Regions from separate parts of the Homo sapiens genome. Here region 1 is linked to region 2. The links are contacts of gene promoters, found by promoter capture Hi-C in human tissues and cell types (Jung and others, 2019). All regions are on one chromosome and are shown on one strand. Each heading gives the region's core, a stretch centred on a gene start or on the middle of the fragment in contact. The rest is flanking DNA. Distances are from core to core; before and after follow the strand shown.

The links. Contacts are between HindIII fragments. The study calls those that stand out against the background at their distance.
Region 1: a fragment that was not itself captured here is called in contact with the fragment with the promoter of MKRN1 in region 2 in 1 of the 25 tissues and cell types used here (mesenchymal stem cells).

Annotation. Positions count from the first base shown.
Region 1 is chr7:141,533,043-141,539,311 of GRCh38, forward strand. The region is part of intron 1 of AGK-DT (AGK divergent transcript); the gene reads right to left. Among named protein-coding and RNA genes, the nearest start is that of AGK-DT, 15 kb to the right of the region's middle. The HindIII fragment of the contact is 4,128 bases long and covers 1,753-5,880 here.
Region 2 is chr7:140,477,052-140,483,919 of GRCh38, forward strand. It overlaps MKRN1 (makorin ring finger protein 1), which reads right to left and starts at 2,454. Exons shown (of 8, transcript NM_013446.4): 1 at 2,109-2,454. The coding sequence starts at 2,293. RefSeq lists silencers at 1,685-1,764, 2,045-2,184, 2,475-2,584 and enhancers at 1,720-2,560, 2,891-3,801. The HindIII fragment of the contact is 9,474 bases long and covers 1,348-6,868 here.

The sequences.
Region 1 (6,269 bases), core at 2,567-5,066, 1.1 Mb after region 2:
CCTGGGAGGCGAAGGTTGCAGTGAGCCGAGATCGCACCATTGCACTCCAGCCTGGGTGACGACAGCGAAACTCCGTCTCAAAAAAAAAAAAAAAAAAAAAAAAAAAAAAAAAAAAAAAAAAAAAAAAAGCATGCAGTAGATGCTTGAATGAATGGTTGAAGAAGCACAGGATAGGCCGCCAGACTTGGGGACTGAGGGAAGGTGGAGGGAGGAGGCAGAAAGTGAGGGTCATTAATGATCTTTTCATAAGGCCTTTGAGAGACTATTGCCAGGCCCCAGACCCCCTTTACAAACTGCTGAGCACTGCAGGGGGACTATTTGCGTCAGACTCAAGCCAAGACATCTCCAAGATCCCTGACAATAAAGCAAACACTAGGCTGGCGCTGGCTAATAGAGGAACCCAGAGGGAAAAACGCTTTTCTGTTTATGGACAATTCTCCTTCTACAGCCGGATCTTCAGCGCCACCTAGTGGTGTGCTCTTCAGGCTGGCTGCACTACCAAAGCAACCGACTAAGATTCAAATGCCTTGGTTTAAAGCTGCAAGGATTAAAACTTTCCTCTTAAGGTCTAAGATAAGAGACTATGTGGGCATAATGAGCAAATTGAGAGCTTTAGGATTCACATCAGAGAATTCTAAGTCACAAAACTTAATCTCAGCAATTACATACACAGTTAGTAGTAGGATTTTGTAGTTGCCCATACCGTTTTGCAGTTTTGGACATTGAGTAGTTTTGGACAATGAGGCCAAGATCAAAAGTTAAAGCCGTGCAAAGGAAATGCAGCACCAAGAAGGGAAAAAGAGAATCTGATCCAGCCCCTGCCGCCAGGCAGGGGAAGTGTTATTTCCATTTCATATTTAAAGCAAGTAAAACCCTACGAAATGTCCAAGGTCAAATGTCCAATATATGAGGCAAGAACTTGAATTGTGTGGAGTGTGCCTTTTCTTTTGCTATGCTGCTTCAAAGTACCCCTTTTCTTTCAATATTTGCTTTGTTTTGCTACAATTGCACTGATATTCTCCTACCAATGGATCAATAAGCTTCATTTCTATTCTAAACTCACAAACTACAGTGTTCCCCTAAAGGCTTGGGTCATTCTGTCTGTCTCATGCAGGAACTAGAATTCCCTAGAATGTTCATAATGTGAATGGCAATTCATGTGTTATATATACATTAAATATCTTATGTATAATGTTAACTCATATTCCTTTTACTTGTTAACTGACCTTAAATTAGGTCAGTTTCTATATGTAATACTGTAAATATTAATTAGATTGCAGTTAATTTGTTGATAATTCATGGTGATTATATTAGTTATACAATTCACAATGAAATTTTAAAATCTGCCTTTTCTTTAAGAGAATGTGGTTTGGAATTAAATGGAGAACTTACATTTATTCAGCATCAGATATTGACTAGGTGATTTTACATATACTAATTTAATCTTTATGATTAACACTATGAGGTAAGTCAAATAATTATCTTTATATAGATGAAGAAAGAAAGACAGAAATTGTAAATAACCACCCCTAGATAGACACTAAACAGAAGAGCTGGAAATTGAAAGTGGACTTTCTGTCTTGAAGTCAAGTAGTATTTCTACCAGACCTCTTGAATCCACTAGACTCGAAGTCCAGAAGTCTGAGTTTTATTTCCAACTTAAATACCACATACAATGCTGTGTACTATAATATCCTTTTGAAAATTCACTATGCTCATTTGTATATCCACAGTCCTATTGAATTCTAATATAAACATACATGTTTAGCAACACTCATGGAATTATTGTTCTTTCTCGGGGTTTTTTTTTTTGAGTGTGTACGTATATCTATTAACTCTCCTCTGAAATAGTGCTCTATAAAGCACACAGTGATTAGTGCTGGTCTGGAAGATAATATGCTGGAGAGCCTGATTGGAGCGATCTGGACTAGAGAGATAGCTGTGAACTGAATGAGGATTCAGTCTTCCAAAATAGTCCTTGGGCACACTTGCCAAAAACAGCTCACAGCATAATTTTGTTTTAAAATACTTGTTTGTAACCTTGCTTGTTTAAGAAAGAATTAATGTAGGAGAACAGGATTTCAGTGGCATAATGGTTATCACCAGGGCTCTCAATGAGAATGTAAAACGTATCTATGGCCTCCTCTCTCTTCCTTTCTTTGACATCTCTCTCCTCTTCTTGGATTGCTTCCCGCTCTGCTGGCTCATCTTAACCTGCCCCTCCCAGGGCTTACTGGGTTTCAACGTTACCTCTCACACCTCTTCCGAGTTCCTCAGTGCTTGTCAGTTTGATGTTAGGAAAACAATCTAACCAAATTGATATTCATTATATTATGAGTCCTTTGTGCTTCAGGAGTATTTGTGATGGGAATAATTAAGCCTCCTTTAACTGGAAAATTTCAAATAGCTTCAGGGAGGTTTGGGAGAAAGAGCGTCAATGACTGTCTGAGTCTGTAACCCCAAGCTTGTCTGTTCCATTTTCCTGTGTCACATAGCCTCTGCCAGTGGATTCAGTGCTATTTATACTGGGACTCTCATCCCAGTCCTAAATCTAGCATAGGAGCAGACAGATAGATGCCAAAAAAATACAGCAACGATTCATGATAAAAACTCCCAGAAAACTAGAAATGCAAGAAACTTCCTTAACCTGATGAAGAGCACCTATGAAAAATATATAGCTAAGATAACTCTTAACGGTGAGATTCAGAATGCTTTTCTCCCCAAATCAGGAACTAGACAAGAATATCTACTCTCACCAATTCTATGCAATAGTCCCCTTAAATACTAATTGATAATATAAAGAAATAAAGAGATAAAAAATATTGAGATTGAAAAGCAAAAAGTAAAACTGCCCTTATTTGCATATGACATGATTGCATACATGGAAAATCCTAACAACTACAAAATGTACTATACCAAGGAAGTGTATTTAGTAAAGTTACAGTATCCATTTTTTACATGAATGTAAAAAAAAAAAAAAAAGTATATCTAGGCTGGGAGCCATAGCTCATGCCTATAATCCCAGCACTTTGGGAGGCTGAGGTGGGCAGATCACCTGAGGTCGGGAGTTCGAGACAAGCCTGACCAACATGGAGAAATCCTGTCTCTACTAAAAATACAAAATTAGCCGGGCGTGGTGGTGCATGCCTGTAATCCCAGCTACTCGGGAGGCTAAGGCAGGAGAATCACTTGAACCCAGGAGGTGGAGGTTGCTGTGAGCCGAGATCGTGCAATTGCACTGCAGCCTGGGCAACAAGAGTGAAACTGTCTCAAAAAAAAAAAAAAAAGTAATCTAGGCCGGTCAAAGTGGCTCATGCCTATAATCCCAGCACTCTGGGAGGCCAAAGTGGGTGGATCACCTGAAGTCAGGAGTTCGAGACCAGCCTGGCCAACATGGTGAAACCCTGTCTCTACTAAATTTACAAAAAATTAGCTGGGCATAGTGGTAGGCGCCGGTAATCCCAGCTACTCGGGAGGCTGAGGCAGGAGAATCGCTTGAACCCAGGAGGTGGAGGTTGCAGTGAGCCGAGATTGCGCCATTAGTGAAACTCCATCTCAAAAAAAAAAAAATGTATATCTATATTCTAGTAATCAACAATTGGAAATGGAAATTTAAACAATACCATGTATAACAGTACTAAACAGTGGAAAACACTGAAATATATTTAACAAAATATGGTGCAAGACATGTACACTTAAACTTAAGAAACATTACTAAGAAAAATGAAATAATACCCAAATAAATGGAGATAAATACCATATTTATAAATCGGAAGACTCAATTTTATAAAATGATTAAATCTTAAATTGGTCTATAAATTCAACATAATCTGGATCACAAGCACAGTTTTATTTTTTGTAGACAAAAAATAAATTGACAAGATGATTCTAAACTCTGTATAGAAATTCGAAGGACTTAGAATAGCCAAAATATTTTGAGAAAAGAGAACAAAATTGAGGACTTAAACTAGCCAATTTCAAGACTTACTAAAGAGCCTTATTAATCACGATAGCATGGTATTGGCATAAAGATGGACATACAGATCAATAAAACAGAGTAAAGAATCCAGAAAAACTCCATACATACATGGTTCAATGATTTGCCAAGGTAAGTCAGTGGAAGAAAGGATGGCATTTTAAGAAATAATGTTGGGCCAGGCACCATGGCTCATGCCTGTAATCCCAGCACTTTGGGAGGACAAGGCGGGTGGACCACCTGAGGTCGGGAGTTTGAGACCAGCCTGGCCAACATAGTGAAACCCCATCTCTACTAAAAATACAAAATTAGCTGGGCATGGTGGCATGTGCCTGTAATCCCAGTTACTCAGGAGGCTGAGGCAGGAGAATCGCTTGAATACTGGAGGCAGAGATAGCAGTGAGCCGAGATCGCACCATTGCACTCTAGCCTGGGCGACAAGAGAGAAACTCCATTTCAAAAAGAAAAAAAAAAAAAAAAAGGAAGAAAAGAAAGAAAAGAAAAGAAAAGAAAAGAAATAACATTGGAACAACTGAAGAGAGGCATATGGGAAAAAGAACCTCAACCCCTACCTCACACAGTTCACAAATATTAACTTAAAATAGGTAATAGACCTAACCAAAAAATAAAAATAAAAATTATAAAACTTCTGCAAGAAAAAAAAAATCGGAGAAATCGGAATGATATTGCATTAAGCAAAAAACTCTTAAATGGGCCCTACAAATATGAACTATAAAAGAAAAAAAATCAATAAATTGTACTTCACCAAATGTAAAGCTTTTGCTTTTCAAAAAGCACTGTTATAAAAATAAAGCACAACATAGACTGGAAGAAAATATTTGCAAAATATATCTGAAAGGGATTTGTATCTAAAATATATAAAGAACTTTAACAATTCAATAAGAAGAATTTTTTAAATGGGCAAAACATTTCAACAGATGCTTTGTCAATATCTTCCACAGATGATTAGATATATTAGGATGTCTTCAGTTTTAAAACTAACATACCAAGTGCTGGTGAGGATGTGGAGCCATTGGAAGTCTCATATCCTGCTTCCAGGAATGTAAAGGAGTGCAACCAGTTTGGAAACTAGTTTGACAGTGTCTTAAGAAATTAAACACACTTACATAAAACCCAGCCATCACTTTCCTATGTATTTACCCAAAAGAAATAAAAACATAAACATATATCACAAAAAGACTTGTATACAAATGTTGAATGCACCTTTGTTTATAATGGCAAAAAGCCTGAAACAACCTAAATGTCTGTCAACAGGTGAATGAATGAAAAAAATTGCAGTAAACCCATGCAATGGGCTACTAGTCATCAATAAGAGCAAACTACTGAAGCACACAATGGATAAATCTTAAAAAAAAAAAAAACCGTGTTGAGAGAAAAGCCAGAAACAAAAGGTTCTATATTGTACAATTCCATTTATGTAAAACTCTAAAAGATACAAATTAACATACAGTGGTAGAAAGAAGATTAGTGATTGGCTGGTGTTGGGGTGGACTGAGGGAATGTAGGAACTGACTGGAAAAGAATAAGAGAACACTTGGGTGGCAATGGAAATGTCTGTATCTTCATTGTGGCCAGTATAGGAACATACGCATTTATCAAAAGTCATCAATCTGCACACTAAAAATGGGTGCATTTCGTTGTATGTAAATGTTATGCCAATAAGATTTATTTTAAAAATTGTAGTGGGAATGCAAGGAGAAGAAAGGGGGTAATTTTGGTATATTTCTATGTTAGAGTGGGCAGATTTTGAGTAGGTTTATATGCTAAGAGGAAAAGACAGTGGAGATGGAGGGAGAAAATACCAGAGTGAGGAAAGGACTGATGAGGCAGATTTCTCGGGGACGGGAAGATGGGGGTGCCATCCCAAGCACGGGTGGATGGATGAGCTGTGGATGGGAGGAGTGAACATAAGCTCCCTGAGTCTGCAGCAGAGGAAAGTGGTTGTACTATTAAGTTTGAACAAAGACAAATGTAATTTTGTATGTGGGAGGGCAGAAAGCAAAGGAAGTTCATGGCTCATTCAATCATTCAACCTTTATTTATTTTATGCCAGGCACTTTATAAATAAAGATATGGATATTCTGTAAGAAAGAATAATACTGTTTCTGCTCTCATATAATTTAGAATACAGTAGATGGGGGGCATTAAACAATTAAAGAACTAAATACATAATTACAGATTATTATGAATGCCATACAGGTTAAGGAATCTATTAAAGAGGGCAACAGAAGGAACCTAATTTAAACAGATGGCTCAGGGAAGGTCTCTTGAG
Region 2 (6,868 bases), core at 1,204-3,703:
CACACCATTGCACTCCAACCTGGGAAACAAGAGGGAAACTCTGTCTCAAAAAAAAAAAAAAAAAAATGATAGTTGACATTCCTCTATCTAAAGGAGAAAATAGTTTTAAGTAAGAGATCATGTTGGTACCTAGAACAACCGAAAACAATGTCAAACACTAAAACCCCAGACCTATCAAGGAATCTGCACAACAATAAAAAACTGTCTCAAGCAAAAGCTATACAAAAAACCCCCAAAAACTAGTAAATCTAAGCTCTTTCTTTTCTTTCTTTTTCTTTTTTGTTTTTCTTCTGACAGAGTTTCACTTTCGCCCAGGCTGGAGTGAAGTGGTGTGATATTGGCTCACCGCAACCTCTGCCTCCTGGGTTCAAGCAACTCCCTGCCTCAGCCTCCGGAGTAGCTGAGATTACAAGCGCCTGTCACCACGCCCGGCTAATGTTTTTTGTATTTTCAGTAGAGACGGGGTTTCACCATCTTGGCCAGGCTGGTCTTGAGCTCCTGACCTCGTGATCCACCTGCCTTGGCCTCCCAAAGTGCTGGGATTACAGGTGTGAGCCACTGTGCCCGGCCTAATTTTTGTATTCTTAGTAGAGACAGGGTTTCACCATGTTGGCCAGGCTGGTCTCGAACTCCTTACCTCAGGCGATCCGCCCGCCTCAGCCTCCCAAAATGCTGGGATTACAGGCGTGAGCCACCACGCCGACCTAGCCACCCCGACAGGCCGGTTTCAATCTTTTAAAAGATGTAACTAGCACATATAGATCAACTGTAGCATTGTAAAAGGGAAACAGATATTCAAATAATTTGCTCCATGAGTAGAAACTTTAAAATCATCATTCCTGGCAATATTCCACTTTTACAATCCACCGATGAATAAGACAAGTGACCTGAAATTGCGTTTATGCTTTCTACATCCCATTATGTAAAATAATTAAGCTTATCCTTCACACCTTAAATGTATCATATCAAAGGCTGAGAGACCTTCGAAGGTCGCCAGGATAAATGTATCACATCAAAGACTGGGAAGGTTTCAAATTTCACCCTTAATACTACAAGTTCTAATTAGGAATCATTTTTACATACTTGCATATAAATTATACCACCCAGGTGAAAACCGGCATTTCAGTTGATTTATTCAACTGATAGAAAAAGAAAAGCTTACAGTCGCTACTGATCACTATTTAAAAACCGGAAAATAAAAAACGTACAATTAAATGCCCTCTTCTGCGTAGAGCTAGGTAGTTTTTTACAACCATACACATCCATACAACCGCCATCCCTTAATTTTTCTAATATTTTCGTCTCGCATATCAAACCAAAACCAAACCTCTCTCTCTTCCGGGAGCGAAGAGCCCTTTCACTCCCTTCGGAAGATGCGTAAATTTCAAAAGAGGAACATAGCGCTGGGGGAGGGTAATAATCTGCAGCTCAAAAAAACCGCGGGTGGAGAAGACGACCCCGGCCCCCGAACGCCTGCTTCTAAGACAAAGCTCAGCACCGCCAACCTCGACAAACATACAAAGAAGAAATACAAAAGCTTCTTCTCACAGTTGGGCGGAGGATGGGGGGCGGAGGGACGGAGGGACGTGAAAAGACGTTACAAACGGATGGCACGGAGAGAGGAGAGGGCCGGGAGCCAGGCAAGCTCGCTGGGGCCCTCGGCGGGGTGTCTAGGCCCGGAGAGGATCGCTGGGAGACCGGCCTCAAGTGACCACCTCCCGAGCCCCGGGAGCCGGAGGCAGCGGCGGGGGCATCCTTCCAGCGGCAGGGGAGGAGCCAGCCCACCTCTCCCCGATGCGCTCGCAGCCAGCTCAGGCAGCGCTCAGGGAAGTGTAAGCGGCGGTGCAGCCCCGCGGCTCCGCAGTAATCGCGCACCGCCAGGCCTCCGCGGACAGCGCTGAGGGCTCCGCGGCCCAGCGGGGGTTGACGCAGTGACTGGGGGAACGCGGCGGCAGCGGGGGCCGCGAGGGCTGCAGAGATCGAGACAACGCCGGTCCCCGCCCTCCCGCGCCTCTAGCCGCAGGCCGGCCGCCCTCCTCCCTCCCGCGCCGCAGGCTTGGCCCGCGGCCCCCTCCCCGCGCCCGGCGCTCCGCCGCGCAACGTCCTACCTGCAGGTGACCTGTTTAGTCCAGCCGCCGCCGCTGCCGTCGCTGCCGCCGCCCCCTCCGCCCGCCCCCAGGGACGGGGCGGTGACTGTGGGGATCGGGGTGGGGGAGGCTGCTGCCGCCGTCGCCGCTGCCGCTCCTGCTCCTGATGTTGTGGCTGTTGTTCCGGGAGTTGCAGCCTCCGCCATTACTGTTTATCCCACACAGCAAAGGCCCCGGAACTTCCGGGATCACATAGTTCCGGTCCGGCTGCGGGGAGAGGACGGCGAGGCCAGGCGAGGGGAGGGGAAGGACACTGAGGCACCCGTTCGGTCCCCGCCTGCTACGCGTCGCGTATCTGAGCGCTCTCGCCACTTCAACTGCGGGCCCAGAGCATGCGCGCCCGCGGCCCGCCCACGGCGCCGCTCATTGGTGGAGGGGACGTCTCCTCCGGAAAGGGGCGGGGCAAACGGGGGTCTGTACAGGTGTGTCCTAGGCTCGAAACCCCGGCGACGAAAGTCCATAGTTAGCGGCTTTCTTCCTAGCAGAGGCTGATATAGTGGAGCTGGGGCTGGGGACTAGGGACTTGCAGTCGGAAGACCTGGGTTTGAATCTGCACTTTCCCATTTCTCTAGTAATATTTGAGCTAGGTACTTGTTCTATCTGAGCCTCCGTTTCAGCCTCTCTCGAATAAGGATGACAGCAGACCCACATATGGTTGCTGTGAGGATTATATGATGTCCTTAGAAATCACTGAGCTTAGTGCCTGGTACATGGTAAACACTTAATAAAGGTTATCTCATTCCTGGTATCAGAGATGTGATCTTGGCCAAGTATTTTGGCTGAGCAATGCTCTAGAGGGCTGGTCCCCTTATCTCCAGGCTTCCCTTTCTAAGCCATGGGTCTTCTAGCAAATTATCCTACCTCTTGGTGCTCCTGCTTTCTCCTCTGTAAAAACGACAATAATAATAATAATAGGCCAGGCGCGGTGGCTCACGCCTGTAATCCCAGCACTTTGGGAGGCTGAGGTAGGCGAATCACCTGAGGTCATGAGTTCGAGATCAGCCTGGCCAACGTGGTGAAACCCCGTCTTTACTAAAAATACAAAAATTAGCCGGGTGTAGTGGCTAGTCCCAGTTACTCAGGAGGCTGAGGCAGGAGAATTCCTTGAACCCGGGAGGCGGAGGTTGCAGTGAGCCGAGATCGCGCCACTGCACTCCAGCTTGGGCGACAGAATGAAATTCCGTCTCAAAATAATAATAATAGTAATAGATAATAGTACCTACTTCAGAGATGGCTGTGAAAGTTAAATGAGAATCTGTTTAAAAACCTTTGTACTGGCCGGGCGCGGTGGCTCACGCCTGTAATCCCAGCACTTTGGGAGGCCGAGGGGGGCGGATCACCAGGTCAGGAGATTGAGACCATCCTGGCTAACACGGTGAAACCCCGTCTCTACTAAAAAATACAAAAAAATTAGCCGGTCATGATGGCGGGCGCCTGTAGTCCCAGCTACTCCGAGGCTGAGGCAGGAGAATGGAGTGAACCCGGGAGGCGAAGCTTGCAGTGAGCCGAGATCGCGCCACCGCACTCTAGCCACTGCACTGCAGCCTGGGCGACAAAGCTAGACTCCATCTCAAAAAAAAAAAACAAAAAGCAAAAAAAAAAAAAAAAAAACCCCTTTGCATTGTGCTTTTCACACTGCAGTGAATACATAATGAGTAACAAAATATGTCTGGAATATCCTAGCTTTTTTTTTAATGCGTCTTTAAAATTGTATGTATTTAAGGTGTAAAACATTGTTTTAATATACATGTACCTAGTGAAGTGATTACTACAGTCAAGCAGATTTAGCATATCACCTCACATGAATATTTTGTGTATGTGTTTGTGGTAAAAACCCAAGCTCTACTCTTAGCAATTTTCCAGTATACAATACAATATTATCTATTAACATTAATCATAGTCTTCCGCCGGGCACGGTGGCTCACACCTGTAATCCCAGCACTTTGGGGGCCGAGGCGGGCGGATCACAAGGTCAGGAGATCGAGACCATCCTAGCTAACACGGTGAAAGCCCGTCTCTACTCAAAAAACACAAAAAATTAGCTGGGCATAGTGGTGGGTGCCTGTTGTCCCAGCAACTCGGGAGGCTGAGGCAGGAGAATGGCGTGAACCCGGCAGGTGAGGCTTGCAGTGAGCTGAGATCACGCCACTGCCCTCCAGCCTGGGCAAGAGCGAGAGTCCGTCTCAAAAAAAAAAAAAAATCATAGTCTTCATGTGGTACATTAGATCTCTAGACTTATTCATCCTACACAGCTGCAACTTTGTCCCCTTTGACCTGATGTCCCCATTCCCCACTCCACTCCTGGTAAACCACTGTTCTACTCTGTTGCTATGTATTCAACTTTTTCACATCTTCACGTATAAGTGAGATAATGTAGTATTGTTCTTTGTGTCTGGCTTATTTCATTTAGCATAATGTCCTGCAGGTTTATCCATATTGTGGCAAATAAAGGCTACCACACAGGTAGTAACCTTTAGAGACACAATAGGTGGTAAATGTTTCTTTCAGACTTTTCAAGTTGTCAGACTCTCAGTTAATCTCTCTCAGGTCTGGGGAAGGGAGAGCCCGAAAGAAGGCTCTTGTAAATAGAGCCTTCTATTTTAAGGCTGAGAAATAAGGAATATCCTAGCTTCTGAGGATTACTTTTTTTTTTTTTTTTGAGACCGTCTTGCTCTGTCACCAGGCTGGAGTGCAATGGCGCGATCTCGGCTCACTGCAACCTCTGCCTCCCGGGTTTAAGCAATTCTCCTGCCTCAGCCTCCCAAGTAGCTGGGACTACAGACGTGCGCCACCATACCCAGCTAATTTTTGTATTTTTAGTAGAGACAGGCTTTCACCATGTTGGCCAGGCTGGTCTCAATCTCTTGACTTCGTGATCCGCCCGCCTAGGCCTCTCAAAGTGCTAGGATTACAGGTGTGAGCCACCACGCCCGGCCTGGATTACTTCTAAAACTATGAAAAGTAAAGTGTAGTTAATTTTTAATTTTGTTTAGGGATGAGGTCTCACTATATTGGCCAGGCTGGTCTCCAGCACCTGGGCTCAAGTGATGCTCCTGTCTTGGCCTCCCTAAGTGCTGGGATTATAGGCATAAACTACCATGCCGGGCCTCAGAGTGTATTTAATTATTTTTCCCCATAAGGCCTACTGTCCACTCAGATGCAACATATTAAACTCTGAGTTTCCATAGGCAGTTTTTCATAAGCCCTTAAGTTCGACTTTTCTGTAGTCTCTACGTTGAAAGTGAAAATCAGCCTATTAATCATCAGACCCCGATGTGCCCAACACAGGCAAACAAGGAAGGTGGCAAAAACAACAGAAAAGAATGCATCTCCTAAGGCCACACCACAGCAAGATAACTAACAATCCCCTCGAAGGAAACCAAAATATTTCACTTCACCTCAAAATATACACTTCTGGCCAGGCGTGGTGGCTGACGCCTGTAATCCCAGCACTTTGGGAGGCAGAGTTGGGCGGATTGCATGAGGTCAGGAGTTCGAGACCAGCCTAGGCAACATAGAAAAACCCCCGTGTCTACTAAAAATACAAAAATTAGCTGGGCTTGGTGGCGTGTGTCTGTAATCCCAGCCTGGCCAATATAGTGAGACCTTATCTCTAAACAAAATTAAAAATTAACTACACTTTACTTTTCATAGTTTTAGAAGTAATCCAGGCCGGGTGTGGTGGCTCACACCTGTAATCCCAGCACTTTGAGAGGCCTAGGCGGGCGGATCACGAAGTCAAGAGATCGAGACCAGCCTGGCCAACATGGTGAAAACCTGTCTCTACTAAAAATTCAAAAATTAGCTGGGTGTGGTGGCGCACGTCTGTAGTCCCAGCTACTTGGGAGGCTGAGGTAGGAGAATCTCTTGAACCCGGGAGGTGGAGGTTGCAGTGAGCCAAGATCAAGCCACTGCACTCCAACCTGGACACCAGAGTGAGACTCTGTCTCAAAAATAAATAAATTAATTAATTAAACTTCTTTGACGTATTTTAAGATACCACTTCATAATAAAAAAGAAAAAAAACAAATAAGATACCTCTTTGGAAGGGTTGGAAATACAAGAATAGAAGGAAAGCTGTCTTTTGTGGGAAAGATTTGCATCTGCAGAGAAAATCTACACTGAGGCAGCCCGGCTTTCTTTGGAGCCCTCCCTTCCCCAGATCTAGGAAACATTAGCTGAGAGTCTGACAACGTTTGAAGCCTGAAGGAAACATTTACTACCTATTGTGTCTCTGAAGGCTGCTACCTGCATGGTTTCAATGACCTAACAAGACCACTGTGGCTAGCCAGGCTTCTGCTTCTCTCCATCCCATAACTGCTGGCCACCATATGATTTACCCTTATATCCTGTTTTGGGATATGTTCCCCATTCTTTCAGTAACCTCAAGATGGAATATGAGCTTGCCCTCCCCGTTGAGGGGTTGGGATCATCACTCTCTTGTTCTCCCTGTGCACATTAATAAATGTGTATGCCTTTTCATCAATAATCTGCCAGGGTTTTTGTTTGTTTCTTTGTTTGTTTTGTTTGTTTTGAGACAGGGTCTCGCTCTGTTGTGTAGGATTAAGTGCAGTGGTGCAATCTCAGCTCACTGCAATCCCCACCTCTCGGGCTCATGCGATCCTCCTTCCTCAGTCTTCCATGTAGCTGAGACCACAGGCACACACCCTTACGTCCAGCCAATTATTGTATTTTTGGTAGAGACAGGGTTTCGCCATGAT